2 separate regions of the Homo sapiens genome follow, and region 1 is linked to region 2. Evidence: promoter capture Hi-C in 16 types of primary human blood cells and fetal thymus (Javierre and others, 2016). All regions are on one chromosome and are shown on one strand. Each heading gives the region's core, a stretch centred on a gene start or on the middle of the fragment in contact. The rest is flanking DNA. Distances are from core to core; before and after follow the strand shown.

Region 1 (4,218 bases), core at 298-2,797, 530 kb after region 2:
GTTCCTACTTCCAGGGAATTTTACCTTCTAGTTGGGTAAGACATGAACACATGAAATGACTAGAAAACAAGGAAGTGTTAAAACAGAGGTTGCAAACTGGTGGACTATGAGCTGAAGCTAGGCCTTAAAAAATGTGTCTTGTTTCAAAATAACAATCTTAGCCAGCTCAGTTGTCATTTTCCAATTTTTAAAATTCTGGTAAAATACATATAACATTAAATTTACTATTTCAACCATTTTTAAGTGTGAAATTCAGTGGCACTAAGTACATTCATATTGGTGTGCAGCCATCCCCACCGTCTACCTCCAGAACTTTTTTCATAATTTTTTTTTTTTTTTAAGATGGAGTCTCACTCTGTCACCCAGGCTGGAGTGCAGTGGCGCGATCTCGGCTCACTGCAACCTCCGCCTCCCAGGTTCAAGCGATTCTCCTGTCTCAGCCTCCCAAGTAGCTGGGACTACAGGCACCTGCCACTGTGCCCAGATAATTTTTTGTATTTTTAGTGGACATGAGGTTTCACCATGTTGGCCAGGCTGGTCTCAAACTCCTGACCTCAGGTGATCTACCCACCTCGGCCTCCCAAAGTGCTGGGATTACAGGCGTGAGCCACTGCACCCAGCCTAGAACTTTTTTCATCTTGCGAATCTGAAACTTTGTACCCATTAATCACTAATTCCCCATTCTTGCCCCCCACCCACTTCCTGGCAACCACCATTTCACTGTCTCTGTGGTTTTGACTAAGTATTGCAGCTCATACGAATGGAATCGAACAGTAATTTATCCTTCTATTACTGACTTATTTCATTTAGCAGAATGTCCTGAGGATTCATCTGTGTTGCATATATCAGCATTTCCCTCCTCGTAAGGCTAAATAATATTCCATCATGTGATATATATATATGTGTGTCACATTTTGCTTATCTATTCATTTGTCAATGGACACTTGGGTTGCATCCGCATTTTAGCTCTCATGAATAATGCTGCTATGAATATGGGTGTACAAATATATCTTCAAGACTCTGCTTTCAGTTCTTTTGAGTATATACCCAGAAGTGGAATTGCTGGATCATATGCTAATTCTATTTTTAAATGTTTGAGGAACTGCCATACTGTTTTCTACAGCAGCTGCACCGTTTTCCATTCCCACCAACAGCGCTCCAATTTCTCTACATCCTCACCAACACTTATTTTCTATTTTGTTTTTGTTTGGTTTTGTTTTTTACTAGTAGCCGTTGTAATGGATGTGAGGTGGCCAACACAGTTAATTTTTAAAAAATTAGTTATCAATGTCTTAAAATCAAATTTCACTTTAAAAATGTATATTTTCAGTTTTTTTGAAAAATTGGAAAACTCTGGCTGGTCTGGCCTGTCCTTGTCCCTGGTAACAGTTGGCTAGAGCTAAGTAGCAACTGCCCCTTGGCACAGGGCAGGGCCTGCAATTTCCAGCTCAGCTCGCACCTCTCCTGTAGGTTCCTTAACACAAAAAATAAAAGCAGGTGCCTCTCACCCCAGCACTGCCACTTTTCCCCACTGAACGGTCAGGAAGAGAGGATTTTCCTTGTATTCATCCTTGATAAAATGTGGCAAAACTAAAAGCAGACAGGGAGATAGGGAGTGAATGTCATTTTTGTGATAGTGTATACTGATTATGTTTAATTGGTAGATTAGTCCATTCTCACACTGCTGTAAAGAAATACCTGAGACTGGGTAATTTATTTTTATTTTAAAAAGAGGTTTAACTGGATCATGGTTCTGCAGGCTGTACAGGAAGCATGACGGCATCAGCTCCTGGGAGGCCTCAGGGAACTTACAATCATGGCAGAAGATGAAGGGGGCGGAGTGAGGCATCTCATGGTGGGAGAAGGAGCAAGAGAGAGAGGTGGGTAAGTGCTAGCCAGTTCTCATGTAACTGGTTACACAACCAGTAAATAACCTGTTGAGAATAACCAATTCTCATGAGAACTCTATCACGAGAACAGCACCCAAGGGTTGGTACTAAACCCTTCGTGAAGGATCCACCCCTATAATCCAATCACCTCCCACCAGGCCCCACCTCCAACTCTGGGGATTACAATTGAACATGAGGTTTGGGTAGGGACACGGATCCAAACCATATCAATTGGCAAATACAGTTTCTTATAGTCAAGCACTTCACTCATGTTAGTTCTTCCTGGCCCCTATAGGCATTTGAGTTTGTGATCCTTGGGTTAAACTCTTGGCCACTAGGTATTCTGAGACAATGGCTGCTCTGGGAGCAGGCTGATCAAAGGCAGTTTGAGAAAGGAGGCAGATTTTCACCTCTGCCTTGAAGGATCATGTATTAGTTTGCTAGGGTTGCCATAAGGAACACCACAGACTAGCTGGCTTAAACAACAGAAATTGATTTTCTCACAATTCTGCAGGTTAGAAGTTTGAGATCAGTGTCGGCAGGTTGATTTCTTTGGAGGGCTCTCTCCTTGGCTTGTTGGGGGCCACCTTCTTGCTGTGGCCTCACATGGTCTTCGCCTGTACCTGTCTGCATCCTAATCTCCTGTTCTTACAAGGATACCAGTCATATTGAATTAGGGCTCACCTCTATGACCTCATTTTACCTTAATCACCTCTTTAAAGACTCTATCTCCAAACAGTATCATATTCCCAAGTACTGGAGGTTAGGACTTCAACATGTGAATTTTGGAAGGACACAATTCAGCCCATAACAGATAGATAGGACCAGGAAGGAGGAGAGAGAAGGTACAGTGGGCATGCATTTTGCTATCTTCTTAGCACCTGTATCCATTTCTTGTTGCTATTATAACAAATTGCCACAAATGTATTGGTTTTAACAACACAAATTCATTTTTTTCCAGTTCTGGAAGTTCTAAAATGAAGCACTGGCAGAGCTACAATCCTTCTGGAGGCTGCAGGAGGGATCTAGCGCTTTGCCTTTTCCAGTTTATAGAGGCTGCCCATGTTCCTTGGCTCATGGCCCCACATGATCTGACCTTCACATTCATCTTTATGTCTCCTCTGTCTCTGACTTTCTTCTGTCTTTTTGTTTTTTGAACAGAGACAGGGTCTCACCCTGTCATCCAGGCTGGAGTACAGTGGTGTGATTATAACCTACTGCAGCCTGGAACTGCTGGGCTCCAGCGATCCTCTTGCCTTGGCCTCCCAAAGCTCTGGGACTATAGGTGCACATCACCACGCCTGGCCTCCTGCCTCTTTTTTGTCAGGATCCTTGTGATTATATTAAGCCCACCCAGATAATCCAGGATCATCTGCCCATTTCAAGATTTTTTTTTTTTTTTTGAGACGGAGTTTCCCTCTTGTTACCCAGGCTGGAGTACAATGGCGTGATTTTGGCTCACTGTAACCTCCACTTCCTGGGTTCAAGTGATTCTCCTGCCTCAGCTTTCTGAGTAGCTGGGATTACAGGTGTGTAATTAGCCTGTAGGCACAAAATTACCCACCATGCCTGGCTAATTTTATATTTTTAGAAGAGATGGAGTTTCTCCACATTGGTCAGGTTGGTCTCAAGCTCCCAACCTCAGGTGATCTGCCTGCCTCAGCCTTCCAAAGTGCTGGGATTACAAGCATGAGCCAACACGCCCAGCCTCAAGATTCTTAATCAAGTTTGCAAAATCCCAGGGATTAGGACATGGACATCTTGGGCAGGGACAGGGAAGGGATTGTTCTTTTGACCACAGCACATCTTCCTTCTTCCCCACTCCAACCTTGAAGACCTAGTGGGCGCTGTCCCTCAGAGCCCCCCATGAGAGTGTTCACATGGCCCACACTGGCCAATGTGGCCCTTGGAGGGGTTTCCCTGGAGTGGCAAAGCAGTGCGATTTGAGTCAGGGACTGGCAGAGGTCCAGCCTCCTGTAAGGTTGAAGTTTTCATCTGCATTTGTGGAGATGGAAACTGAGGTGTAGCAAGAAGGAAATAGTTCTGGTGGCATTTTTATCATCGGTTCCAATTGTTCCCAAAGCCAGCAGTTTAGGGGTCAGTATATCCTCCAGTTGTTTTGGTTCAGTTGGGTTTCTGTCCCTGCAGATCAAAATCATCTTGACATATACAGCAGCTATTTTGAATGAAGCCTAGACAGTACGGGAGTGCGGAGACAGCAGAAGCAGAGATGAGTTATCTTGAACCTAATGAAGCTTGAGCTTCAGGGCTACTACCTTATGTGAGTCCCTCTAAGGCCCTAGATGGGAGTCGTGTTCATACACTTTGC
Region 2 (3,857 bases), core at 828-3,327:
ACCATTATGTTACAACTGCCTACAGTATTCAGTAACATGCTGTACGGGTTTGTCCTAGGTTTGTGACTTAAGAGCAACAGACTACAACATACAGCCTAGGTGTGTCTAGGCTAGACCATCTAGGTTTGTATAAGTACGCTCTATGATGAGAGTAAAATGAAATTGCCTAAGGACTCATTTCTCAGAACATATCCCTGACGTGACTATACTTTCATAATTTTCACCTTTGGGACCAGCTTATGGTATTGGCAGGGGTCTCCCTTAAAACCAAACCAAATACACAACAAATAATGCTAAAAGGTAGAGGTTGGAAAAAAAAAAAAGTTTCACTCTCGCCCAGGCTGGAATGCAATGGTGCCAACACTGGACCAGACTCCTGGGCTTAAGCAATCCTCCCACCTCAGCCTCCTCAGTAACTAGGAATACAGGCCTGCACCACCATGCCTTTTTTTTTTCTTTTTTTTTTAAGAGATGGAGTCTCACTATGTTGCCCAGGCTGGTCTCAAACTCCTGGCATCAAGCAAGCCTCCTACCTCAGCCTCCCAAGGCTCTGGGGGCAGAAGCCACTGTGCTCAGCAGAGGTGGATTTTTAATGAGGGATAAAGCATATTTTTACTTGTTAGGGATTGTTTCATGCCTTGATCTCTGTCCGTCTGCCTAGTTCCAGAGAGAAATAACAGAGATGTTCTCATTCCCAGCAAACGTTTGTTTTTCCTTCCTTGGATTTCTGCCCTGAGTTTGTGGCTGCTTTCCTACAGTGCCGACCTAAGCTAGATAAAATAGAAATTTCATGACAAAACAAAGGAGATTTAAAAAAAAACTAGAAATTTCAAGAATGCTTCAAAATCTAAAGCGCAGAGTACTTTGCACACAGGGCAGTTATTCCTGCCACACCTTGCCACTACAGGTGGCCACTGTCAGAATGCGATGTTCCACCAATGTCTCTTCATTTCACAATTTGAAAAATTTTTTTTGTGGAGGCAGGGTTTTGTTATCTTGCCCAAGCCGGTCTCCAACTGCTGGCCCCAAGTGATCTTTCCTTGGCCTCCCAGCAGCCACTTGCCTGGCTTTCATTTCATACATCATTATTGAATAGCAGGCATTGTCCTATGTGCTTGGTAATACATCACTGAGCAAAACAGACAAAAAACGGCCATTGAGGATAATCCTCAATATATAATAATATATATATTATAGAGAGGATGTGGAATATACATATATATGTGTGTGTGTATATATAGAGAGAGAGAGAAAGACTCATTGTGTCACCCAGGCTGGAGTGCGGTGGTGTGATCTTGGCTCACTGCCGTCTTGACTCAGGTGATCCTCCCACCTCAGCCTCCAAGTAATTGGGACGACAGGCACGCGCCACCAGGACTGGCTAATTTTTTTGTAGAGACGGGTTTTCGCCATGTTGGCCAGGCTGGCCTCAAACAACCGGGCTCAAGTGATCCGTCCGCCTCGGCCTCCCAACTTGCTGGGATTACAGGCGTGAGCTACCGTGCCCAGTCTCTAGTGATTATATTCTTGCCCTGTTTAGCCATTATGTCTCTTTACTCACAACAGTTTATAAGTGAAACTTTGCCTTACCATTTGCATGAGTCGGCCTCAGCTTGTCATTATATATAAAGCTTACTAATGTAAATGACGAGTTAATGGGTGCAGCACACCAACATGGCACATGTATACATATGTAACGAACCTGCACGTTGTGTACATGTACTCTAGAACTTAAAGTGTAATACAAAAAAAAAAAAGTTTAAATATGATTGGACTCTACCCCAGAGCCCAGTTTTCCAGAAATTAGAAACAGATATGCCTAAGACCCAGAGGGTTATTTATTACTCAAATCTAAAACGTTGACTCAAAACCTCCCCTAATGCCCACCTTTGGCAAACGATGCTTAAACCTTTGCACGTGGCTTCAAAAATTACCTGGCTGGGAACGCGTAGCTCTGGCGGGGCACTCTGCCTCCAAGCCAAAAGGGGGCAGTGGACTCACAGAGCCGCTGCTCGGCCCTCCGATCCCTCCACCCCACCCTGGGAACGTCACGACCTCCTCTCGCCGCTTCTCCCCGTTGCTAATGCGCAGGCGCTGGCGGGATAGCGCGCCGCCGAGCCGAGAAAGAGGTCACGAACTCTGACCCCCCAGAAATACCCAAACACAGAAAGCTCTCTCCGCCGTGAATCTCGATCCCACATCCCGTCGGCTTTCTTCAACCTCTCTTCCCGGAGCGCCCCCCAATCCACGAGTGGCAGCCGCGGGACTGTCGCGTCGGCGCCCGACGCCGGAGTCAGCAGGGCGCAAAAGCGCCGGTAAGAAACGCTGGGTGGGGACACCAGCGACCGCGTCGGGGGCGGGGGCCAGGGGGTGCCCTTCACCCCAACCGCCAACGGACGCGGTCCCAGCGCATCCCCCGGCCGGCGTCCTGCGGCCAGCGGAGCCGTTCAGTTTGGGAGCGCCGCTTGGGGCTGCTCGACTTCGGCTGGGAGCGCGGAGCTGCGGCGCCAAATGCGCGGGGCCCCGGGAGAGGCGGGGGCGACAGGGGCGGCGGGACGCGGGGCCGGACGGCGAGCGGCTTGGAGCACACAACCCCCTTTCCAGCTGCGCTTACCGCAGCGCCTCTGACCTTTAACCTGCAGGGAAAGCTTCCGCGGCGCTGCAGCTTTCCCCGCCCGGGAGAGCCGCGCGCAGCGCCGGGGCTTCCAGGGCGCACGGCTAACGCCGGCACGAGTGAGACGTGGGAGAGGCCGACCCTCGGCTAGTGGCCGCAAGTCCCGGCCTGCATCCCGTCACTAACTCCCGTGCTTTCACGGGACGGACAGAATGACTCCCCCCACTTTCACTTTTCTCTCACGGCAAATCTGGCCAGGGTCGTCGCTGCCTGTGGGCCTGGATCTTTTCAGAAGAAATGGAACGGCCCCAGGGTTCTCACTGCAGGGGGCATGTCCAAGCTTCCGATAGATAGCTCTTTTGTTAAGAAATAATTCTTCCAACTCGGGCAGATACCATTTTTGTGCAGTACGAATGTTGCCAGGTTGTCCCATAATCTTCAGTAAGTAGGTCAGCCTTTAAAAAAGTAACCGGAAAGCAAAAGCAGAAAGACCTAAAATTACGGCCTTTAGGGTTTAGTACCGCTAGAATTTGTAAATGGACCTTCGATTTTGAGCTTTTTTGAACCATTTCTGCTGTGTGGTTGGTGATACTCGATTTTTTTTTCTTTTTTTTTTTTTTTTTTTGAGAGGGAGAGGGAGTCTCACTGTCGCCAAGCTGGAGTGCGGTGGCGCGATCTCGGCTCACTGCAACCTCCGCCTCCAGGTTCAAGCGATTCTCCTGTCTCAGCCTCCCGAGTAGCTGGGATTACAGACACGAGCCACCACACCCAGCTAGTTTTTTTGTTTTTGTTTTTGTTTTTGTTTTTTGTATTTTTAGTAGAGGTGGGGTTTCACTATGTTGGCCAGGATGGTCTTGATACTCTGACCTCGTGATGTACCCGCCTCTGATCCACCCGCCTCGGCCTCCCAAAGTACTGGGATTACAGGCGTGAGCCACCGCGCCCGGCCGATGATTGTTTTTAAACTTTGCTTTAAGTCCAGTTAGTATATCTGAAAAAGCGATGTGTATTTCTATCATTAAAAGTGGGTCGCGGCTGGGCGCGGTGGCTCACACCTGTAATCCCAGCACTTTGGGAGGCTGAGGTGGGCGGATCATCTGAAGTCGGGAGTTCGAGACCAGCCTGACCAACATGGAGAAACCCCGTTTCTACTAAAAATACAAAATTAGTCGGGCGTGGTGGCGCACACCTGTAATCCCAGCAACTCCGGAGGCCGAGGCAGGAGAATTGCTTGAACCCGGGA

Evidence for each region. Contacts are between HindIII fragments. The CHiCAGO score rates a contact against its expected background, and 5 or more counts as called.
Region 1: a fragment that was not itself captured here is called in contact with the fragment with the promoter of NR2C1 in region 2 in 1 of 17 cell types (endothelial precursors); the score reaches 5.1 in endothelial precursors.

The regions. Positions count from the first base shown.
Region 1 is chr12:94,541,326-94,545,543 of GRCh38, reverse strand. No RefSeq gene overlaps it. Among named protein-coding and RNA genes, the nearest start is that of MIR5700, 18 kb to the left of the region's middle. The HindIII fragment of the contact is 5,199 bases long and covers 1-4,146 here.
Region 2 is chr12:95,071,838-95,075,694 of GRCh38, reverse strand. It overlaps NR2C1 (nuclear receptor subfamily 2 group C member 1), which reads left to right and starts at 2,077. Exons shown (of 14, transcript NM_003297.4): 1 at 2,077-2,315. RefSeq lists enhancers at 1,980-2,299, 1,990-2,490 and a silencer at 2,380-2,659. The HindIII fragment of the contact is 1,017 bases long and covers 1,634-2,650 here.